Linked DNA regions of Homo sapiens: all the other regions are linked to region 7. Evidence: promoter capture Hi-C in 16 types of primary human blood cells and fetal thymus (Javierre and others, 2016). All regions are on one chromosome and are shown on one strand. The core of a region is centred on a gene start or on the middle of the fragment in contact, and the rest is flanking DNA. Distances in the headings are between cores, read along the strand shown. Region 1 overlaps TMCC1 (transmembrane and coiled-coil domain family 1). Region 2 holds the start of RAB43 (RAB43, member RAS oncogene family). Region 3 overlaps TMCC1 (transmembrane and coiled-coil domain family 1). Region 4 overlaps TMCC1 (transmembrane and coiled-coil domain family 1). Region 5 overlaps TMCC1 (transmembrane and coiled-coil domain family 1). Region 6 overlaps TMCC1-DT (TMCC1 divergent transcript). Region 7 holds the start of EFCAB12 (EF-hand calcium binding domain 12).

Region 1 (3,337 bases), core at 717-3,216, 320 kb before region 7:
CACCCACCTCAGCCTCCCAAAGTGCTGGGATTACAGGTGTGAGCCACTGCACCCAGCCTTTTTTCTGTTTTTTAAAAGATTTTTTATAATGTTGCATTTAATGTTTAGGCTTATGGGCTATTTTAAATTAATTATTTTGTATAAGTTGTAATAAGATGTAAATATGCTGAGATTCCTTTTTGGCAGGGATACATATTGACATACAAATTTTCCATCACCATTTGCTTAAAAGACTATCTTTTCTCCATTGAATTACCTTTGCACCTTTGTAAAAATGCAGTTGGCTATATTTGTGAAGGTCTTTTTTAAGACTCTCTATTGTATTCCATTGATCTGTGGACCGTATCCTTCCTCCGGTATTACCCTGTATTGATTGTTGTAGTAAGTCTTAAAATCAGGTCATATGACTCCCCTAATTTTGTTCTTCTTTTCCAGAATGGTTTGTCTATTCTAATTCCTTGTCTTTTCATGTAAATTTTAGAATAACTTTATATATGTATAAAAAGACCTGGCTAGCATTTTGATTGGGATTATGTTGATCAAACTGGGGAGAATTGAGTCTTAGCAATATTGAGTCTTCCAGTAAATGACATGGTGTCCCTTTCCATTTATTTGACTCTTCTTTGGTTTCTTTTATCAGTGTTTTGTAGTTTTTCACATACAGATCCTGCATATATTTTGTCACGTTTATAGCTAAGTGCTCCTTTAATGGGAGGGGGCTGTGATAAATGGTATTGCTTTTTAATTTGGGATTTCAGTTGCTCATTGCTGGTACATAGGAATACCATTGACTTTTGTATATTGACCTTGTGTCCTGTGACCTTACTGAAGCAACTTATTTTTTAGTTCAAGAAGGTTGAGTTTTTTTGTTAGTGGGTCTTTTGTTTGGGGGATTTTTTTTTTTTTGTAGATTCTTAGCATTTTCTAGACAGTTATATTACTTATGAATAGAGTTTTATTTCTTTCTTTGTCATCTGTATGCTTTCTATTTATTTTTCCTGCCTTATTGCACCAGTTAGTACTTCGTGTTGTTAAATAGGGCTTGTGAGAAAATATATCCTTACTTTGTTCCAGATCTCAAGGGAAAGCATTCATTCTCTCACCATTAAATGTGATGTCAGCTATAGGTTTTTCATAGATACCCTTCGTTAGTTTAAGGAAGTTTCCTTCTATTCTTACTTTGAGAGTCTTTATCATGAATGAATGTTTCATTTTAGTAAAAACTTTCTCTGCATCTATTGATATAACATCTGGTTTTTAAAAAATTTATTTAGACTTTTGATATGGTAAAATACACTGATTTTCACATGTGTAACTAGTCTAGCATTCCTAGGATGAATCCCACTTGGTTGTGATGTATTAATTATCCGTTTTATATATTGCTAAATTTGATTTGCTAATGACTTTTTGCATTTATGTATTGCTTTTTAAAAGGAAAAACAATACATAATTAACTTGCTGAATATTACGATGTCGAGTGTGAAAAACATCTGCTTTGGAAAGCTTGATTTCTTTATTACTGCCTTCCTAAAATTCACTCTTTTTCCACATTTCATACTCTGGAAGATTGGATATATATAAAGTTAGGACTTCAGATAAAAATCTGAGTCATTTGGAAAATTGTACATTTTTAGGTAAACATTGGACAAAAAATGTGAGATGATTCTCTATTCAGACATATATTTGGCTACTTATTTTATATGTGTGTTTTAGATCCTGATGTGGTTTGGCTCTGTGTCCCCACCTAAATCTCATGTCACATTCCCAGAGTTGGAGGAAGGGCCTAGTAGGAGGTGACTGAATCAAGGGGGCAGACTTTCCCTTTGCTGTTTTCATAATAGAGTTCTCATGAGATCCAGTTGTTTCAAAGTGTGTGGCACCTCCCCCTTCTCTCTTTCTGTCTCTCTCCCGCTGGCCATGTGAAGATGTGCCTGCTTCCCCTTTTGTGTTCTGCCATGATTGTAAGTTTTCTAAGGCCTCCCCAGCCATGCTTCCTGTACAGCCTGCAGAACTGTGAGTCAATTTAAACCTCTTTTCTTCGTAAATTACTGAGTCTCAGGTGTGTCTTTATAGCAGTGTGAGAACGGGCTAATACAGGTGCCTTATTCTTTGAAATTGATTTTTTTTATCATTTAGACATTTGGTACTTACTGTTTTAATGTATTAGTTTTTGTGTGTGTGTGTGTGTGTGTGACAGTCTTGCTCTGTCACCAAGGCTAGAGTGCAGTGGCGTGATCTTGGCTCACTGCAACCTCTGCCTCCCAGGTTCAAGCGATTCTTCTGCCTCAGCCTCCCTAGTAGCTGGGATTACAGGTGCCCACCACCACACCTGGCTAAATTAGATTATTTAATATACCTTTTGATCATTCATTAGTCATTTTCAAGTGGCTGGGGAATTGGGATATATTTAATCCAGAATAGAAGCTTTAAAGAATGACCTCCCAGGGTGAGTATAGTTCTGGTTTTGATTCTGATGATGACTATTTAGATTTTGGTTTTTTTAAAATCCCCTGCAGGGATACATGTAATCAATCATCAAAAATTCCGTTCTAGTGAATATATGGATGTTAATATCATGAGTGATAGGTTTAACCCAGATCCATAAAGGGAAGAGATAAGGTCACAGCTCGCTCATTCAGAGAGTGAGGGAAAACATTCTGCTGATGCCATTTCTCCTTCCAGAATGCTACCTAGAGAACTGTTGTAAGTTTATGCTGACAGCTGGGTAATAGAGGATTGCTGTGTTGGGAGGTCAGGATTAAGGTGGTCCTTTCATAGTATAAGCATTCACTTCTATCTAAGTTAGTGCAAACTTTTAGATTATGCATAAATTAAATAAATATCTTCTAACCCATCCCATACATTTAAAGCAATTAGGTTCCAGGAACAAGGGGTTCTAAGGCCTCACCATCCTAACAGTAAATAGAAGATAGGCAGCTTGAAGTCCTACAGATAATTCAGTATGAATGTTGAAGATAGAAAAGATATTATAGTGTGCTGGGCATGGTGGCTCACACCCATAATCCCAGCACTTTGGGAGGCTGAGGTGAGCGGATTATGAGGTCAGGAGTTTGAGACCAGCCTGGCCAACATGGTGAAACCCTGTGTCTCCTAAAAATACAAAAATTAGCTGGGCGTAGTGGCATGCACCTGTAATCCCAGCTACTCAGGAGGCTGAGGCAGGACAATCACTTGAACACAGGGCCGGAGGTTGCAGGAGCCAAGATTGCACCACTGCACTCCAGCCTGGGTGACAGAGCAAGACTCTGTCTCGGAGGGGAAAAAAAGATACTATTGTGTTTAGGGTTGGTTGGTTGGTTTGAAGAGACAGGGTCTT
Region 2 (3,194 bases), core at 519-3,018, 310 kb after region 7:
GTGGAGGTTATTTCCTGCCTCTCTAACTCTCCGCTCCCATCAGGTGTACCAAAGTGGGGCTCTCAATTGCTTTTCAGTGGCACTTTGGGGTTTCCTGTCTGATTCTGTTGGGTATTTCCCATGGGAGTGGAGTTCAAACTTTCAGAAGAAACAACTCTTCTGCCTTCTCCACGGGGTCTGCCTTTGCAGACTGCTCATTCAGTCCCTTTCTATCTTGACCTGAAAGGTTGGCTGGGGTCCTCACAGTGGCACTGGGGGACTTGCTCTCTGCGAAGTCTCCTTCAGCTTGAAGACTTTCCCCTTTTCTCCTGGATTTTTGTCTGCTTTGTCCACAGGTGCATTACAAGGCCCCAGGACAATGCCCGCCTGTAGTAGCCATTCATTAAATATGTTGAATACCTGGAATTGGAGTGCCACAAGGAAGCTGTCTAGAGGGGTAAGGGGTGCTGTCAATTCCTTCCCATCTTCGGAGCTGGGAAGCCCAGTCCTGTTGGATCTAGTATAAGCTTCTTACAGATGTTTGGGTCTCCTTTCTCTGAGGCGCCCTGGTTCACTGGGCCAACTCAGGAGTTGGTCTGCCCTTCCTCAGAAATCCCTTCAAGTTTTTCTGTTCCTCTTCCTAGACTGGTGCTTTTTGGCTGGGTCAGTTTCCCAAATGGGCCTGTAGCTGCTCTGAGCTGGGTCATCCAGCCGTTTAGCAGCTGCTTCAACCACTGCTAGGCTGCCTTTTGGAGACAAGAGCTCCCAGCTCCTCCTTCTGGCCTAGCTTCCCATCAAATGGGGCCCTGGGTCCTCTCCTCACAAGGATTTTGGGCTCCTCCGCAGTTTTGTAGCCAGCCTGGATTCTGGCCTTCTGCAGCCTGCTCCCTCCCTTCCCTTCCGCCCCTGGGAAGAGCGACCCCCACCACTCTCGGAGACTGCACTGCCCGCCTGTCAGAGTGGGCACTCAGGTGACACTGCTGTGGTCGTCCCCTTCCTCCGTGATCCATTCCGGAGGGGGTCATTCTTAGTCTAGGCCTGCAGGCCCGGAGCTCCAGCCATGGTCTCCGCCTGTCCCTGACCGGCGGTCTGGGAGGCAGCAGGTAGGGGATCCCGGGCAGGCGGACCAGGCCTGGGTGGGGGGCGAGCAGGAGGCGCGGGACAGCACCTGGGGGTCCCAGCTGATGAAGGGTCGGGGTGGGCAGCGGTTTGGGGGCCAGACGGATCCGCGGTGTGGGCGCGCCGGGGTGTTGATGGAGGAGGGGCCGAGGTGCTGAGGGCGGGGTCGGGCTGGGGTCGGGGCTGAGGGCGGAGTCGGGTGGGGCGGAGTCAGAGCTGAGGTGAGCCTGAGGGCGGAGTCGGGGCGGGCTGAGGTGGGCCTGTGGGCGGAGTCGGGGCGGTGTGCTGAGGTGGGCCTGAGGGCGGAGTCGAGGTCGGGCTGAAGGCGGAGTCGGGGAGGGCTGAGGTGGGCCTGAAGGCAGAGTCGAGGTCGGAGCTGGGGACGGAGTCGAGTTCGGGCTGAGGGCGGAGTCGGGGCGGGCTGAGGTGGTCCTGTGGGCGGAGTCGAGGTCGGGCTGAGGGCAGAGTCGGGTCGGAGTCGGGGCGCGCTGAGGTGGGCCTGGGGGCGGAGTCGAGGTCGGAGCTGAGGGCGGAGTCGGGGGCGGGGACGTAGGCGGAACCCGGGTCGGGCTGAGGTGGGCCCGAGGGTTGGGCTGGGGGCGGAGTGGGTGCCAGCCTGAGGGCGGAGCCGGGGGCGGGCGGGGGCGGGCTGGGGCGGGCCTACAGGCCAGACTGGTGTGGCACGGAGCTGAGGACCGGCCGGAGCTTTGCGGAGGGCCCGGCTTGGCGGGTCCGGGGGGGAGCCGAACCCGCGGGGCACCGGGTCCGGGCGGGGCCGAGCCGGGCCGGGGCGGGAGCCAGCCGGGGTGGGGCGGGGCCGAGGCCGAGGCAGGCGGTCGGCAGTGCTGGGGGTTCAGGTGTTGCGGCGGCTCCACGTAGCCAGGCGGCCCGTGGGCTGGAGCGGGCGGAGCTCGGCCCGCGGCTTGCGTGAGCTCAGGCCGGTCCCAGCGTCCAGAGCGCCGGCCCTTCGGCTTCTTCTAGGCCATGGCAGGGCCGGGCCCAGGCCCGGGGGACCCGGACGAGCAGTACGATTTCCTGTTCAAGCTGGTGCTGGTGGGCGACGCAAGCGTGGGCAAGACGTGCGTGGTGCAGCGCTTCAAGACCGGCGCCTTCTCGGAGCGCCAGGGAAGCACCATCGGCGTCGACTTCACCATGAAGACGCTGGAGATCCAGGGCAAGCGGGTCAAGGTGGGAGGCCGGCCAGGGCCCCTGGAAGGCGCTCCCTCGGAGGGTGGGGCGGGGGCAGCGGAGCCCCTGGCCGCGGCGAGCGCACCCCGCGTCCATCTGAAGTTTCCTTTGGCTTCCCCTTTTTCCTTCCTCGGGTCGGAGCAGGCCTGGGCCCCGGGGTCTGGGCCGGGTTCAAGTCCTCAAAGCGCCGGCCGTGGGTTGCTGGGGGGGGGGGGGGCGAGGGAGTGTGGAGGAGGCGGCCCTGCCCTCCGGAGCTCACACCCTAGGAGGGGACTGTGCTCCAAAATAACTTTAGCCATTGGAAGGCAGGGGGTTAGACTCCCCTGTTCCAGGTACTAGCGGAGCGCCTTGGAGTGCGGAGATCAGACCCCCCACCTCCATCCACCGCGATGGCAGCCCCCAGCTCAGCCCACCGGCGGGGCACTCAGCCAGAGAACTGCATCCCCACCCCAGGACTAGGAGCGATCAGGAAGTAGTTGCTTTTAGGACCAGAGGGCCAAAACTTTTTGTCAGAATTTCCGGCCTGGCCACGCCTCCCTGCAGTCTCTTTGTGGACCTGGTGGTGGAACTTTACTCGACTAGGGCCAGCCCCGGTTCCCTCCCCCAGCTGGAGTTTGATAGAAACTGAAAACTTCACAGATACCGGAAGGTGGGGGAGAGAACCAAGCTTTGGCAATGGCTCCGAATAAAAACAGCAGGATGTGGTTGCCACAATGTCCTGGCAGTGGTTTGATAAATATTTGTGATGAATGAAATCAGAGTTTCTTAACCTAGGTGTTAGTACTCCCTAATCAACCAGGAGATCCTGGGCTGAAGGCACTCAGTAACTTTTCTGAACCGCACTGTACAGAAATCTTTGCTTGCTTTCATGGTTTCGAGCCCCCATGATCTTCAGGACACCCTCAGGG
Region 3 (3,283 bases), core at 406-2,905, 370 kb before region 7:
AAAAAATATACGAATGAGTTCTGCCCTAAACAGTACTAAATTCATTCAGAAGTAATGAACAATTCCAAGAGGAGCACATAGACTGGAAAGTTTCATTAAATGAAACGTTATCCTCACAGTGGTTGTCTGGAAGCAGACCCAAACAGAGGAAGAGTGGCAAAGATAGGAATATTTTTATCTTTGGAACTGCTCTTACAGTTATTTTTCATACCTCTTTACCTGCATTGATTCACTCTGAGCTGTTCCTTTTGTTTTGTGTGTAGATTTTAAAAAATTACTTCATTCCAACAAGAGAGGGCAATTACCTCAGGAGGCCACTTTAATGTGTTTAACTTTGGCACAAGTTGAAGTCACCGTCGGAGTATGCCTCTCTGCACCTGACATTCCTTCCTGAGGCAGGACCCCTCCCTGTGAATAAGAGGAAAGGCTTGGCCAATTATGCTAGACAAAGCCGCACAGCTGCCGAGCCCAGCTGGGAGGAGTTTCCTTCTTGAGCAGGGAGCTGGTACAGCCAGGGGCTTGCTTTTCACCACCTCCTTTTTTTTCACACTGCCTCACCTTAAAGGATTACCTAAGGTGGAGGTAGAGAAGGGTGCGTTGCTGTCTGCAGTGGACACTCTCTGCTGCTGGGACGGCTGAAGAGGGGAGGAATTGGTGCAGTTGCCTGTCTCCTACTTGGAGCAGATGCTGTCTGACCCCAGCACACCACTCCTCCTCCCACAGAGACCGGAACATCAGGTCTGTCCTCTGGAGTTTCAGGTAGCACCACAGCGGCATCCTCGCCTACTGGTCTGGTGGAAAGGGAAGGGGTGGTCCTTGTGTTTGGACCCCTCACAGCTGACTCACAGGAAGTGCTAGAAGAGCTTGGCACTGGGCACAGCGGCTTCAGGATTACTGCCCCACCCACCCTGCCCTCTCCCACGTAGGTTTTCCAGTATCTCTTGATAGAACAATGAAGGCTTTCCAAGTTTGCTAAGACTCCCAGGGAAATTCTTTGCACTTCTCTGGCAGTCTTCAAAATGTTCTGCCACCGACTTTCCCAAGAAGCTGTTATTTAAAAAACCCTTCGTGGATTGCTTTGTCTGAAGATCCTCTGGGTGATCATGGTTCAGCGCTTTAGCCTCAGGAGGCAGCTATCCAAGGTGGGTTGGTAGTTTTCTATGTTTGTGGAGGGGAAACTCTCACTTGCTTCAGCATGGTTCCTTTTTCTCTGGAACTGTTCTGTCAAGCCTGCCGTCCTCCAGCGCTAAGGAGGGGCTGAGGGAGGAAGCACTGCCTTTTGTTCTTTTATCTGACAGGCACAAAGCTTGAAGGCTGACTGCACTGGCAGCCCCAGATTGTGTTCCCCTAAAACTGCAGCTGTCATCTGAATTTGGGCAAAGTTGTAGTTTGCTCCTGAGATAGAATTTCCAGAAGGGTGTGTGTGAAAGAGATAATTGTGGGTTGAAAGTGTATATTTAATAAGCAATTAATCTGTCAGCTTGTGGACCAAGAGGAGAAAGCCTTCTTCTCTGTGGAATCAGTGCTTTCATACATTTCACTATTAAACTGAGAAAAACTACCACAAAATAGTTTAATGAGCAAGACTGGCATTAAAATGTTAAAATGAGTGGTTGTGTTGAGAAACTTGAATACTTAATGAAGTATATGAAAAGCAGTTACAGAGAGGCTCACAAAGCAGTTTTTACAGAGTTCTGATGAAAAGCAGGTTCCATGTGTGCAGCTTTTGGGGAAAAGTTTTTTTAACCTGAGAAAATCATACTTAAAATAGTAAAAAGGTGAAGCACGCATTTAAGAGGGGATGGTGATTTATGAAATCCACTCTGCCTGTAGCCAGCCCTCCTTGACCCAGTCATTTAGTGCAGAAACTAATATGGAAAGAGGTGTGGTAAGAGTTGAGCTTTATTTCAAAACCCATTGTGTTCTTTAAAAGCTCCATTTAAAAAATGTAGCAGTTGGTGGCTCAGTTGTGTCACAGTTCATTCCCTGAATACAGAAGCTTAAACAAATAGTAAGTCTGTAGGCATTCTTCACTGCCTTGGCTGTTAATCAGAATTGTTAGATCCTGAAATGTATTGTGATCTTAAGGGAAAACCTTTAGTTCCCTCACAGGTGACCCCAGTGTAGAGTGTGTGCACTGATGCAGAAATGAGCAAAGTGCTTGCTTCCATCCCTGTGTCACATATGCATAGTTTTTCTTGGGACTTCTAAGCCTAACGGGATTTTTAGGAGTATTAAAATATATTTAACTTGCTCCCTTCCCCCCTGCTCCATGGTGTGTGTGTGTGTGTGTGTGTGTTTGAAGGCCTCCACATTTCTCTTACACAATAAAAAGAATCATTTTTGTTGCTCTTTCAATGTCCTCCAGTGCTTGTATTTTCATATATATAGTACATTTAAAAAGCAGATGGGTAGATATCAGGGCAGTGACGTTCCTGCACAAGAGTGTCTGATAGTTGAGAGCCAGGTGATAATTTTCTAATTAGAAGGTAACTATATTATGGGTATTTTGCTGCCAGTACTTCTCTCCCAATTATTTTTTAAACTTTACCCTCTTCACTCTATACTATGTATATGACTGATTTACAAAAAGTACACTTTTGAAGGAATGGGATGCATCCTCTCTTTAGGTACATTACATAAAAACACTCAAAGATGTAGCCTTTTTTCATTCCTTTTCCTGGTACCCTTATTGCTCATTTGAATGTGATTTATGGATCCTATAATGGATGATCTAGACCAAAGCTAAGGAAATTTGTTGTCTATCAGATTTACTGTTCTATCAGAGTAATGAACTGAAAAAATATTTTTAATTATTTCAGTCTGTAAGGCACTTAAATATGAAGGAGAAACCGAATAGTTATGTTAGTGAGTTTAAAAAACAAACTCAGCAAATGGATCAGCGTGGCCAACATAGTGAAACCTCATCTCTACTAAAAATATAAAAATAAACCGGGCATGGTGGTGCGTGCCTGTGGTCCCAGCTACTTGGGAGGCTGACGACGCAGGAGAATCGCTTGAACCCAGGAGGCAGAGGCTGCAGTGAGCTGAGATCATGCCACTGCACTCCAGCCTGGGTGACAGAGCGAGACTCCGTCTTAAAAAAAAATATATCAGCAAATGCATCGTGCCTCTATTTGTCTTTTCAGCTAAATCCATAGGTTACCTGAGAGCCAGGGACCTGCCATACCCCAGTTTATGGTATTTCTGGCACATATTGAACACTCAAAATGAAATCGTTTTTTCATAGATATATATATGTGTATATATATATATGTATATA
Region 4 (3,319 bases), core at 497-2,996, 260 kb before region 7:
GTGATGATACAGGGGCTGAGCCTGGGCTTATGATTGTGATGTTTTAATCTCTTGCTTAGATTTCAGAGTGTTTTTCTCTCTGTCCATAGTGAATACGATTTTAGAGTGTCGTGCTCAGTTTTCTTTTTCTAGTTGTTCTCTCACTCATGTTCTATTTTCATTTTAAATGATTTTGCCAACCTAAAATGAAAAATAAGAGAAGAAACATTACAAAAGCATGGAAATCTGTTCTGGCAGTCTTCTGGGCCTTTATTGAAACATAGGTAGATTGCTTTTTCTTTGTATTTATTGAACCAAGCTACCTAAACAGTGTTATTTTATTTAGAATGTTTTTAATCTTCTTTAAGCGATTCTTTCAACCTTATCTGATTTAAATGAGAAGACAAATGTGAATGTTGAATTAATACCCTGTAGCTTTAAATCCAACCAGTGTGGTGCTTTTGTCTTTTATAAAAGATGCTCACAGCTGGAGAAGAGAGGCAGATACTGTCTGTGATCTCCATTCTCAGAGTCAAACTATTCATTTGCATTAGCTGCTCTAGCAAACTGCGTGCGCGCGCACACACACGGATGCTTGTTTGGCAGAAGCTTTCTGTTTATTCAGCACAGAGTTCTCCTAGGCTCCCAGATATAGAAAGCTCTAAGAGTTGCTACAGGAGATAGAATTGAAACTATACATAGGCTGAGGTGGGCACTGCGGAGGATTGGCTATGCGAGGGTATTAATGTGGTGCGGCTGTACCTGCCTGTTTTGTGAAAGTCACTTCTCTGAGACTGTGAAGGTGAGAAGCCCAGGGATCCACTAGAAGCTTCACTGCGGCTCTTTGGTGGGGGAAAGCATTCCCAGTGGTAGCTGTCCTCATTTGCAGCGTTATTCTCGGAAACCAAGTATGTGCAGCAGTGACAGACTATGCCACAGCTCCTCTGCAGTTTGGAAGCTGGAACAAATGGAAAGAGCTTATAGCCAAGAGAGGTTGTGATTTTTTTTTTTTTACCATCCAAGCTTTCTCTGGCAGTGCACAAATGAAGGATGAGCTTTGTGGCAAGCAAAATCAGCAGACTGCCTGACAGGGGGTTTTGGTAAGATAAATGTGTTGTGATTTTTTTCTTATTTTTTGACTTTTCTATATCAGCTGTATGGAATTGCTTCTTAGCAATAACTAAAACATTTTGCAAAATCATGTTTGATGGAAAAGGATGACCAAGGGAACCAGAAGGAGAAACATAACTTGTGGTCATTCAGTTGTGACCTTCAGAGATAATCCAAGTTTTCTCATGTGTCTCTCAACAGACAGAAGCCAGAAATTTCCAGAGCAAAGAATGCAGACTAACAAACCTCTTTTCTTTTCTTTGAATAGTCATAATTATGCTTTTTTTTCCCTGCTTTTTCTATAGTCTGAAGCGGGAGAAGGAAAAATAAAGCCTTCCTCCTGTTATAGAGTTGTTGCCACTGGAACAGTAATAGGCTGAGAACATAAGTATGGAGGTGGAGGAAGGCAGGATAAGGAGTCTGCTATTTTCATAGCTGTGCGTTGGTGGGTATTTGTCTTGGGTTCATTGTCATTGCTGTTTGATATCAAGTGGTTGTGAATGCTGTATCTCTTTGCCTCTACTATGACTGAATCTCTTTTATGTTCTCTTTTGTATATTTTCTTTGCCAGACTCAATTCTATTGATATGAAGCCTTTTTCTGTTACTGTTTATACATATTAGCCGTTATTAGAGAAAAAATAGTTGTAGAGAGTAGCCCTCCAATATTTATGGACCTCAAAAAAGATAAGGATGTTGTTTTTCTCTTTAAAATGTATGTTTTACTTTTAGCAGATTTTGGAGTCTTGCTTCTGGATTCTTTAATAAGTGTTTTATTACAAATTAGAGAAATGAGTTGCATTAGATTTGCAAAATCCTACCAGAATCACCTTGCTTTAAGTTGGATCTTATTTCTTATGTTTTTTTTCTAAACATTAAAGTTTACTTTTCCTCATCCTAACTTAGGCAGGTGTTACTGGAAGGTATATTCCTATCTCGGAGAGCCAAGTTTCCTAGCTGCTTAGAGTGGCCACAGAAGAGATCCATTGACACCTGACTTTTTGCTGACTCATTGGTTATGTAAGCCTTGTAAATACAACTCTCCATATACTCCATTAGGTTACTGGCAGGTGCCCTCCTCCCTGTTTACTGACCTTTTCCTCTCAGCATCCTTCTGTTCCTTCCGTAAGCCTTTTTGGTAAGATGATCAAAACCTTTCAACCAAGTCAATTCTAAGAAGCAGTGAATAGATAAATCCTTTTTATTTTTCTCTTTTTGAATTGCTACTTTCTTTAACTCTGTTTTCATCTCAATTATGATAAAATTCCAAATTCTCTATTTTCTTGGCATGTGAAACCTACTGTAATAGTGCTTTTCCTCATTTATGGCCTGATTAAAGTAGCAATCTCCTTTTCTATCTTTGAGGACTCAGTTCAAATGTGTTCTTGTTAAAAGAAGCTTTCTGTGACCTCCCAGACTAAAATAGATTTTCCTCCCTTACACTATTCCTTTTCTCATAATATTCTGTTCTTTTTCTTTGTAGCACTTTACACAATTTATATTGTTTGGTTACTGGTTTTTCTCTCTCTACCACTTTTCCCCACTCAGCCATAAACCTCCTGAAAGCAGACACTGTTTGTTCATCATTACATACCCAGCATTTAGCAAAATGGCAGGCTGAGAGTTGAAGAAAGGCAGCTAAGTAGGCAATATTGCAAATGCACTATGGTGAGAAAAAATAGGATAAGCACTGGGCACTGAAACAAGGCCAGTGTGACTAGAGTGGGGTACGTGGGAAAGGAAACATACTGTAAAATGAAGATCTAGGTCAGGCATGGTGGCTCACACCTGTAATCCCAGCACTTTGGGAGGCCGAGGCGGGCGAATCACCTGAGATTGGGAGTTCGAGACCAGCCTGACCAACATGGAGAAACCCCATCTCTACTAAAAAATGCAAATATTTTGTATTTGTATCTAGAGAGGTAGATCCAGGGCCTAACCACATAGGACTTTATAGACTGTTCAGATTCTTGTTTATTCTAAAATTGTAGGAAGCTACTAAAAGAATTTAAGTATTGAGTGATTTAGGCCTTTTAAAAAAAATAATTTCTTCAGCTTAAATGAGAACCTACGTGAATGCAGGTAGATCAATCAGGATGAGTGGTCCAGGAGAGAGATGATAAGAGTTCATCATAAGGTGGTAGCAGTAGAGGTAGATGGAGAGTGTTGTGTATTATGATGGAAATTTGGAAAGTAAAATTGATTGGCCTTATTGTTGGATCGGATATAGG
Region 5 (2,945 bases), core at 366-2,865, 340 kb before region 7:
ATTTCATTTCATTTCATTTCATTTATTTTATTTTATTTTATTTTATCTTAAGACAGGGTCTTGCTCTGTCACCCAGGCTGGAGTACAGTGGTGTGATCACAGCTCACTGCAGCCTCCGCCTCCTAGGCTCAAGCAATCCTCCTGTCTCAGACTCCTGAGTAACTGGGACTGCAACCTCTACCTCCTGGGCTCAAGCAATCTTCCTATCTCAGCCTCCTGAGTAACTGGGACTACAGGTGTGCAACACCATGCCCAGCTAATTTTTGTATTTTTGGTAGAGATGGGGTCTCACTATGTTGGCCAGGCTGCTCTCCAGCTCCTGGCCTGAAGTGATCCTCCTGCCTCAGCCTCCCAAAGTGCTGGGATTACAGGTGTGAGCCACTGCATCCAGCTGAAACATTTTTTCTTAATGCCTCAATAAATACGTATAGTTAGAATTTTTTTGCTCTTTAATTGGACCTGAGATAAATACAAGATCCCTTGAAGCCCCAGATAGTTATCAACCTTAGAGTTGCTTCCCAAGGACAGTGTTCTCCTTTAATAACATATAAGAAACAAAAGTTCAATTTTGCTTCAGAAATGCAAGGTAGGCCATTTGAATTTGTGACACGTGACAAAATGAGTTAACAGTATGGTGGCTGAAATAATCCTTTGGTAATCATCACTTTATAGAAATATCTTTAATTGCTAAAGGAAAGGGTAGACAAATTCTTCTCCGTTGCTTTTGGTCCAAGTAGGGCTTCTGATTAATACTGAAGAGCATTTAAAAAGTACTTTTGCCGTTTCGCTCTTTAAATCAGTATAGCTTATGTCCCCTGAGGAGTGTGGTTTAATTATTCTTGGTTCATTTTTACCCCAGGCCAAAAGTAGAAATGTAAAACATACAAGTTTTATGTTATTTCCAGATGTTAGTGTAAGAACATTAAGTGGATGGGGTCTAATGTGGATTTGCTTTAGATTAGGGGTGTCCAATCTTTTGACTTCCCTACACCACATTGGAAGAAGAAGAATTGTCTTGGGCCACATATAAAATACACTAACGATAGCTAATGAGCTTGAAAAAAAATTGCAAAAAAAAAAAAAAAAATCTCATAATGGGCTGGGCGCAGGGGCTCACGCTTGTAATCCCAGCACTTTAGGAGGCTGAGGCAGGCAGATCACCTGAGGTCATGAGTTCGAGACCAGCCTGGCCAACATGGTGAAACCCCGTCTCTACTAAAAATACAAAAATTAGCCAGGTGTGGTGTCGTGCCCCTGTAATCCCAGCTATTCAGGAGGCCGAGGCATGAGAATCGCTTGAACCCGAGAGGCAGAGGTTGCAGTGAGCCGAGTTCGCACCACTGCACTCCAGTCTGGGTGACAGAGCGAGACTCCGTCTCAAAACAAACAAAATCCTATAATGTTTTAAGAAACTTTATGAATTTGTGTTTGGCTGCATTCAAAGCCATCCTGGGCCACGTGCGGCCCGCTGGCAATGGGTTGGACAAGCTTGCTTTAGATGATCAGATTTGGCAGGGAGGTGTGAAGGGCTTGAAAGAAGAAATTATAAAGTTCCTGTTACTCCCTTACCTTCTCCTGGCTCTGTATCTAAAGTATGCTGTCAAGTTCTTTACCCCTCACTTTCTTCCCTTACGATATTGTGAACTCTGTGAGGTCAGGGTTGAGGCTGATTTATCTGCCTATCTCCAGTGAGTGCAGGGATAAATCAGGAGCCTAACCCTAGTCATTGTTGACAAGCTTCTGTTTAGCCTTAGGGAGGTCATACTACAGCTCTTTTTGTCTGTTTTCAAAAGGATTAAATAGAAAAATCATAGTTTCTAGAGACAGAGGAGACCTTGAAGATTACATAATCCACCTTTATTTTACAGATGAAGAAACTGTGCCTGTCTGGCTCTTCTAAATATAAGAATACATATACTTTGAATTAAATAAATAGCAGTGTTATATTTTATCCTCATTTTCTCTTGTGGGATGTATTTCATTCGGGACTATGTGCACAGTCCTAAACCAGATCCATGTTTTTCTTTGCAATTTAGTGCTCAAACTGTATTCATGAGAAAAAGAATGGATGGTTTAAGTTTCTCAGGGCAGAGGACAATAGAGAGGGGAACAAACAGAATCTAATCAGTGGGACTTACAATAAATGAAAACAGGATACCTTAGATCTAGTTGCTTAAATCAGTTCTCACTAGGTACTTCTCACTAAACTTGTTTTTGTATAAACTTGCAGACATATTAAGATCTTTATTTCTAAATATATGGGCATTTAAAAAATGATTTTCAGAAGTTGTTTGGATTTAGGGACTCCTTAAATTTTATTTTGTAATGAAACATCTTCATACTCGATTGTGAGGGATACCTATGTCCTGGCATCTATTATAACATACCGAAAGCAAACTGAAATATGTTTTTTGTTTGTTTGTTGAGACGATATTGCTCTGTCACTCATGCTGGAGTACAGTGGTGCAGTCATACAGTGGTGCAGTCATGGCTCACTGCAGCCTCCACCTCCCGGGCTCAGGCAATCCTCCCACCTCAGCCTTGCAAGTAACTGAGACTACAGATGCATACCACCATGCCCAGCTATTTGCATTTTTTTGTAGAGATGAGGTTTCACCATGTTGACCAGGCTGGTCTCAAACTCCTGGGCTCAGGTGATCCTCTGGCCTCAACCTTCCAAAGTGCTAAGATTACAGGCGTGAGCCTCTGGGCCTGGCCTGAAATATGTATTTATTTTTTAAGTTGGGGGTGATTATTTACTTTGCAAAAGAATGTTTCCCTTTAGTAAAGCATTCAAATGAAGTACCGATACATGCTATAACAAGGATGAACTTTAAAAACATAAGTGAAAGAATCCAGACACAGAAAGTCACATATTGTAAAATTACATTTTCATGAAATATCCAGAATAGGCAAATCTAGAGAGACAGAAAGTAGATTATTGG
Region 6 (3,287 bases), core at 539-3,038, 470 kb before region 7:
GGAACTTTGTCTTCCTGCTTGAAGTGGTTCCTTCAAACATTGCAAATTTTTTCCTAGTCCCATACCAGGGACATACCCCATTCCATGCATCATATGTTGACTTTGAGGGCTATATAATTGTTCTGGAATTAGAACTTGTGCTCCCCATTGTTGTAATAAATCTCTCCTCCATAAATTTATAGGTACAGAAGTTACAATTGGTTGAATAGTCCCAGGTTGTCCATCGGGCCCTTCACAGTGCAAAATATAACTACTTTGATATACTTCAGGGGCTTTACCAACTCCAACTATGTTAAATTGAGCGAGTTGAATTGGCCAGGAGGATGACCAGTGCTGTAGAGAAATAACTGAAATGTCTGCTCCTGTATCTACCAAACCTTTAAATTTCTTTCCCTGAATAGTTATTTCACAGGTAGGACATTTATCAGTAATTTGATTCACCCAATAAGCTGCTTCACCTTGTTTATTTGTGCTTCCAAATCCTCCTGTTCGTTTAATTTCACTTTTCCCCATTTCCACATATGGCACAATCAGGAGCTGTGCTATGCGCTCTCCTGGCTCTGCTTTCCAGGCAACAGAAGTAGATAAAACAATTTGAATTTCCCCATTGTAATCTGAATCAATGACTCCTGTATATACTTGCAGTCCTTTTAAATTTAAACTAGATCTACCTAGAAGTAATCCTATAAGCCCCACTGGCAACATCTGACTGGAGACAGGAACATTCTTTAACAGTCCCATTACAAAAGGATAACCTTGTCCATACTGATTAATAGCTTGTTTAAATTCTTTGAGTAATTTAAAAGGAAAAGGCTCAAATGTAGCTATAATATTTCCCTGTTGATCTGGGGGGTGTATTCCAACAGGGACTGCCAAACCTCTAAATCACCCTCTCTTCTAGCTTGCTGGATTCCTGCTTGAATAGAACTGAGAGCGGTCACTCGAGGCACTGCTCGGTCACTGGGGCAACTACTTTTCACCCAGTGTCCTCTGGAAAAGAAAGATCTGGAGGGTCAGGCTACTCTTTTTCTTCAAAATAATGAGGGGGTGCAGAAGGGTAGGGAGGAACCTCTTCCTCCTTTGCCGCTTTAGCTTTAGCTGGCAAACAAACCTGCTCTGTCATGTCTTCTGTTAGTTCATTATACTTTCCTTCCTCCTCATCATTAGGGTGAAAAGGTTCCAAGGTGGAATGAACCAGAGCCCACACTTGTCCCATTGATACCCTGATGCTTCCGAGCTCCCCTTCTTACTCACCACGGGGATTGCTTAAGAGTACTCAGGTGTCCTCCAGCTTAGTTCCACGTTCTCCAACCGTCGCTCTGGCGACCCTTCAACCCAGGTTCGAGCCCCATGTATGGACACCACTTGCTGAGACCAGCTCGGTTGTGGAGACCCTAACCCAGTGGCACTAGAGGAATTAAAGACACACACACACAGAAATATAGAGTGTGGAGTGGGAAATCAGGGAGCTGACAGCCTTCAGAGCTGAAAGCCCTGAACAGTTTTACCCACATATTTATTGACAGCAAGCCAGTGATAAGCATTGTTTCTATAGATTATAGATTAACTGAAAGTATTCCTTATGGGAAACAAAGGGATGGGCTGAAACAAAGGGATGGGCTCTGGCTAGTTATCTGCAGCAGGAACATGTCCTTAAGACACAGATCGCTCATGCTATTGTTTGTGGTTCAGGAATGCCTTTAAGCGGTTTTCCGCCCTGGGTGGGCCAGGTGCTCCTTGCCCTCATTATGGTAAACCCACAACCTTCAGCGTGGGTGTCATAGCCATCACAAACATGTCACAGTGCTGCAGAAATTTTGTTTATGGCCAGATTTGGGGGCCTGTTCCCAACACTATCCTTTTTTTTTTTTTTTTTTTTTTTGAGACAGAGTCTCACTCTTTTGCCCAGGCTGGAGTGCAGTGGCATGATCTCAGCTCACTGCAACCTCTGCTGCCCAGGTTCAAGCGATTCTCCTGCCTCAGCCTCCCAGGTAGCTGGGATCACAGGTGCCTACCACAGAGCCCAGCTAATTTTTGTAGTTTTTAGTAGAGACAGGGTTTCACCATCTTGGCCAGGCTTGTCTTGAACTTCTGACCTCGTGATCCACCCACCGCAGCCTCCCAAAGTGCTGGGATTACAGGCGTGAGCCACTGCACCTGGCCCTGATTTCTATACTCTTAATATTAATTGGTTAAGTGCCTGAATGCTAGACATTGCCTCACCAAAACCAGAATTATTTATATATATATATATATATATATATATATATTTTTTTTTTTTTTTTTTTTTTTGAGACAGAGTTTCACTCTTTCGCCCAGGCTGGAGTGCAGTGGCATGATCTTGGCTCACTGCAATCTCCACCCTCTGGGTTCGAGTGATTCTCCTGCCTCAGCCTCCCCAGTAGGTGGGATTATAGGTGCGCACCACCACACCCAGCTAATTTTTGTACTTTTAGTAGAGACGGGGTTTCGCCAGGTTGGCCAGTCTGGTCTTGAACTCCTGACCTCAGGTGATCTGCCTGCCTCAGCCTCCCAAAGTGCTAGGATTACAGGCATGAGCCACCACACCCAGCCTTATATAATGTTTTCAGCAACAGCACAGCAGCATTTCTCCCACATTATAGTTTTGCAGCAGTACCTATCACTGTGCCTCCTTTCTCTCTAATGCTCTTTTCTGAGTTTTCTTTCCTTTCTTTTCTTTCTGTACTTTCATCTGAATACTTACTGCTGCCTGTTTTCCCATTCATAAATCCACTATTTTGCTGCTTCTAATCTGCTCTAAATCTCATCTAATGATTTTTTTAATAACAACTTTAGTAGGGTATGCTGTATATCTATTCATACAATCAACTGTACCTATTTAAAATGTACAGTTTGATGAGTTTTAAGTTATGTATACACCCATACAACCACAACCATAACCAAGATGCAGATCATTCTTGTGGTGCCTAATGTCTGTAATTCCAGCACTTTGGAAGGCTGAGGAGGGAGGATCACTTGAGCCCAGGAGTAGTTCAAGACCAGCCTGGGCAACACGGCAAGACCCAACACAAGAAATTTAAAAATTAGTTGGACGTGGTGGCGCATGCCTGTAATTCTAGCTACATAGGAGGCTGAGGTGGGAGGATTGCTTGAACCTGGGAGGTTGAGGCTGCAGTGAGCTGTGATAGTGCCACCACACTCCAGCCTGAGCAACAGAGTGAGACCCTGTTGCAAACAAACCAATAAAAAAACATGCAGACCACTGTTATCATCCCCAGAAGTTTCTTTGTGCCCCTTTTTCTCAC
Region 7 (3,197 bases), core at 216-2,715:
ATTTTCATTTAACAAACATCCAAGTAGCATTCACAAAGTGTAAAGCCCTGTGGTGGGGAGGGGCACAAAGATAAACAAGTTCTGTACAGACCCTCACAGAGAGAAAGAAGGGCACCTAATAATGGAAGGGAACAAAAGCGGTAAGGAGTAGGGACAAGACACCCAAAGAGGGTGGAGAGGGGCCTCTGAAACCTTGGGCCCAGCTGGGCCTGGAGGGTGGGGCGAGCTCACCAAGCTCAGGGCATCAGGTGTGGCTTTGTGGTAGGGCTGGTGGTCACATACCTTCCCCCAGCATCTCCATGGGGAGTGTGGGCCCGTGTGAATGCAGGAGGCGAGCTCTGCACCAGGGGAGCTCAGGACACAGCCAGGTTGCTCAGGCTCTAGGCCTGGCTTTTCCTGTTTCTTGCAGGTGAGGTTGCCTGACCTCTGTACCTGTTAACTTGTCTTTTAAAAATGGGATAGTGGTGTCTACCTCACACAATGATGGTAATTATGAAGTTCAGACATGTAGTGCTAAAATGGTACCTGGCTTGCAAGAGTGCTGTGTGAATGTGGCCCATGGCAACAATCTGTTTGCAAGCGTCACAAAGATAGCTTGTCTCAGCAAAGGAATAAGGGCTTAGGTGTTTCTCTTTAACTTTTTAAAAATTGAGCTAAAAGCCACCATTTAACCATTTTAAAGTGTACAGTTCAGTGGTTTAGTACATTTACAGTGTGCAGCCATCATCACTAATTCCAGAAGTTTCCATTTCTTTTTTCCACTCCAAAAAGAATCTCTCCACCTGTTAGCAGTCACTTCAATTACTCACCCCATCCCCTAGCAACCATTCATCTACTTTCCGTGTCTGTGGGTTCGTCTATGCTGAACATTTCACATAAATGGAATCATACAGCACGTGGCCTTTTGTGTCTAGCTTCTTGCTTAGCATACTGTTTTGAAGGTTTATCCATATTGTAGCATGTACTTCATTCCTTCTTATGGCCATCCTATGGATATACCTCATTTTGCTTATCAGTTGATGCACATTTCAAGGGTTTATTATTATTCTCTGGTCCTCAGGTTCTGTAACTCCAAACCATGGCACCCTGCCATAAGCGGGGCAGAACATACCCAACACCTCTATCTGGCCACAGCTCACTTTGGTTCTTCCTAACCCTCTGGAGGAGGCAGGGCCTATTTTTCCTATGAGAAAACTGAGGCCTAGAGATATGGAGACCTGCGGAAGATCCCACATTTCACGGGAAAACCGGAGACTTTCTACACTGGATTCAGGGACTACTGGGCCGAACAAAGAAATCCCGCCTTTCACCAAGCCCAGAACTGGGCGGGGCGTGGATTTGCTCGCTGCCCCTCCCAGAATTGGACGAAAACGAGGTGGGGCCAGCAGGCGCTCGGCAGGGCGGGCTCGCTCTTAACACGTGACAGCGCTCAGCCAATTGGCGCGGGGCGTCCGTAGCCACGGCAACAGGTTGCTTCTGCAGTCTGAGCTGAGCGCCTTTCGCACGACTTGGAGTTACGGTTTATCTGATACCCCGGTACCCCTACGCAAGCAAGCCCACATCGACACACATTCACACACGCCCTTCAGCACCCCCTCCCAGCACCACGACCATGGACGACGACTATGAAGCGTACCACAGTCTGTTCTTGTCGCTGCTCGGTAAGCCCCGGGAAGAAGCGTCTGCAGGGAGCGCTCAGCGCCCTAAGGACGCGTGAAAGTGGGGTGAGGGCAAAAACTCAGCCACAGATATTGTGCCGACCCCCTCTGGGTGAAGGGTTGCCATGGAGTCGGGGGCAGGTCATGTACATTTCTGAGATTTCTATCTGAGCCTAGTTGGAGGAACCAGAGGCCCGACCCATGTGACGGGAGCCCTCCAGCTCGCCCTGTTTCTCTGCAGGACATTAATGTATTCAGTACTGGAGGAGAGGCATGGAGAAGACGTCAGTCTTCAAGGTTTTGGCAGTAATGTGCTGGGGACCAAGTTCTTGGCAAAGCAATGCAGCTTCACGGGTAAAGGACAGAGATAAATGGATAATTACAGAATAAGAAGGGGTAAATGCCGGGCCCAGGGATGACACCCAGGAGTAAAAGGTGTGCTGAGGGTATGGGATGGGGAGGAACAGTTCCAAGCTTTTGGAAAAGATCTTTACACTGGAGCTTAAAGGATAAAAAGGAGTTCTCCAAGCCAAAAGGGGAAGGAAAAGCATTTCGGGCAAGGAAACAGCATGACCCAAGAGGTCTGGTGTCTCTGGAAATGAGGTGAGAGAGGTCAGAAGGGACAAGATCATAAAAGATACTGCAAGCCAGGAGATGGAGAGGCCACTGGGAGTGGCAGGACTGGATTGGGAGCAGTCAGAAAAGACCTGAGACTGAGTTGGCAGACTCAGAATGTTGGTGTGGGGAGATGAGAGCTGGGGGCTATAAAGCTTGAAGACTGAAGGTCTTCTCCATGCCGCTTCTCCAGCACTGAACACATTAATGCCCAGTGGAGAAACAGGGAGAGCTGGAGAGGCTGGCCACCTTTCCCAGGCACACAGGTCAGGGCTCTGGTCAAATGCCCAAGCTAAAGATGCTGGGAGGTGAGGGAGAAGGCCCAGGCTAGAGGGAACTACGGGACTTGGGGGCTGGTTGGTCAGGAAACACAGAAGAGGCAAATAAAGATGGTTCTCAAGTTGGCAGCTGGGGGACCTGGTAGATGGAGATGTCTTCCACAGAGATAAGAGAACGTACTCAGAGGACCCAGTTAGTGGGGGAAGGGGCACAAAGACAAATCCAGTCTTGGTTGGTTGAGTTTAAGATCCTTGTCAGTAGCTGGGCACAGTATCTCACGCCTGTAATCCCAGCACTATGGGAAGCTGAGGCAGGAGGATTGCTTGAGCCCAGGAGTTTGAGAATAGCCTGGGCAACATAGTGAGATCCCATCTCTACAAAATTGTTTTTTAAAGTTAGCCAGGCCTGGTGGGGTGGCTCACGCCTGTAATCCCAGCACTTTAGGAGGCTGAGGTGGGTGGATCACGAGGTCAGGAGATCAAGACCATCCTGGCTAACACAATGAAACCCCGTCTCTACTAAAAATACAAAAAATTAGCCGGGCATGGTGGCAGGCGCCTGTAGTCACAGCTACTCAGGAGGCTGAGGCAGGAGAATGGCATGAACCAGGGAGGTGGAGCTTGCAGTGAGCCAAGATCATGCCAT

The links. Contacts are between HindIII fragments. The CHiCAGO score rates a contact against its expected background, and 5 or more counts as called.
Region 1: a contact is called between a fragment that was not itself captured here and the fragment with the promoter of EFCAB12 in region 7, in 1 of 17 cell types (M2 macrophages). The highest score is 5.3, in M2 macrophages.
Region 2: the fragment with the promoter of RAB43 here is called in contact with the fragment with the promoter of EFCAB12 in region 7 in 2 of 17 cell types (naive B cells and total B cells); the score reaches 7.4 in naive B cells.
Region 3: a fragment that was not itself captured here is called in contact with the fragment with the promoter of EFCAB12 in region 7 in 4 of 17 cell types (M2 macrophages, M0 macrophages, M1 macrophages and 1 more); the score reaches 10.2 in M2 macrophages.
Region 4: a contact is called between a fragment that was not itself captured here and the fragment with the promoter of EFCAB12 in region 7, in 1 of 17 cell types (M2 macrophages). The highest score is 6.4, in M2 macrophages.
Region 5: a contact is called between a fragment that was not itself captured here and the fragment with the promoter of EFCAB12 in region 7, in 1 of 17 cell types (M2 macrophages). The highest score is 5.1, in M2 macrophages.
Region 6: a contact is called between a fragment that was not itself captured here and the fragment with the promoter of EFCAB12 in region 7, in 1 of 17 cell types (M2 macrophages). The highest score is 5.0, in M2 macrophages.

The regions. Positions count from the first base shown.
Region 1 is chr3:129,751,517-129,754,853 of GRCh38, reverse strand. The region is part of intron 4 of TMCC1 (transmembrane and coiled-coil domain family 1); the gene reads left to right. Among named protein-coding and RNA genes, the nearest start is that of TMCC1, 140 kb to the left of the region's middle. The HindIII fragment of the contact is 921 bases long and covers 1,506-2,426 here.
Region 2 is chr3:129,120,378-129,123,571 of GRCh38, reverse strand. RAB43 (RAB43, member RAS oncogene family) reads left to right here and starts at 1,768. Exons shown (of 3, transcript NM_198490.3): 1 at 1,768-2,286. The coding sequence starts at 2,083. The region is part of intron 11 of ISY1-RAB43 (ISY1-RAB43 readthrough); the gene reads left to right. RefSeq lists silencers at 1,539-1,758, 1,779-1,958 and an enhancer at 2,739-3,194. The HindIII fragment of the contact is 2,447 bases long and covers 509-2,955 here.
Region 3 is chr3:129,792,183-129,795,465 of GRCh38, reverse strand. All of the region lies in intron 4 of TMCC1 (transmembrane and coiled-coil domain family 1), which reads left to right. Among named protein-coding and RNA genes, the nearest start is that of TMCC1, 100 kb to the left of the region's middle. RefSeq lists an enhancer at 1-1,163. The HindIII fragment of the contact is 693 bases long and covers 1,309-2,001 here.
Region 4 is chr3:129,685,937-129,689,255 of GRCh38, reverse strand. All of the region lies in intron 4 of TMCC1 (transmembrane and coiled-coil domain family 1), which reads left to right. Among named protein-coding and RNA genes, the nearest start is that of PLXND1, 81 kb to the right of the region's middle. The HindIII fragment of the contact is 1,484 bases long and covers 1,005-2,488 here.
Region 5 is chr3:129,767,682-129,770,626 of GRCh38, reverse strand. All of the region lies in intron 4 of TMCC1 (transmembrane and coiled-coil domain family 1), which reads left to right. Among named protein-coding and RNA genes, the nearest start is that of TMCC1, 120 kb to the left of the region's middle. The HindIII fragment of the contact is 249 bases long and covers 1,491-1,739 here.
Region 6 is chr3:129,899,828-129,903,114 of GRCh38, reverse strand. It overlaps TMCC1-DT (TMCC1 divergent transcript), which reads right to left. Exons shown (of 3, transcript NR_037893.1): 2 at 1,255-1,408. Among named protein-coding and RNA genes, the nearest start is that of TMCC1-DT, 7.6 kb to the right of the region's middle. The HindIII fragment of the contact is 6,418 bases long and covers 1-3,287 here.
Region 7 is chr3:129,426,904-129,430,100 of GRCh38, reverse strand. It overlaps EFCAB12 (EF-hand calcium binding domain 12), which reads left to right and starts at 1,465. Exons shown (of 9, transcript NM_207307.3): 1 at 1,465-1,661. The coding sequence starts at 1,613. RefSeq lists a silencer at 1,279-1,328. The HindIII fragment of the contact is 3,479 bases long and covers 1-2,134 here.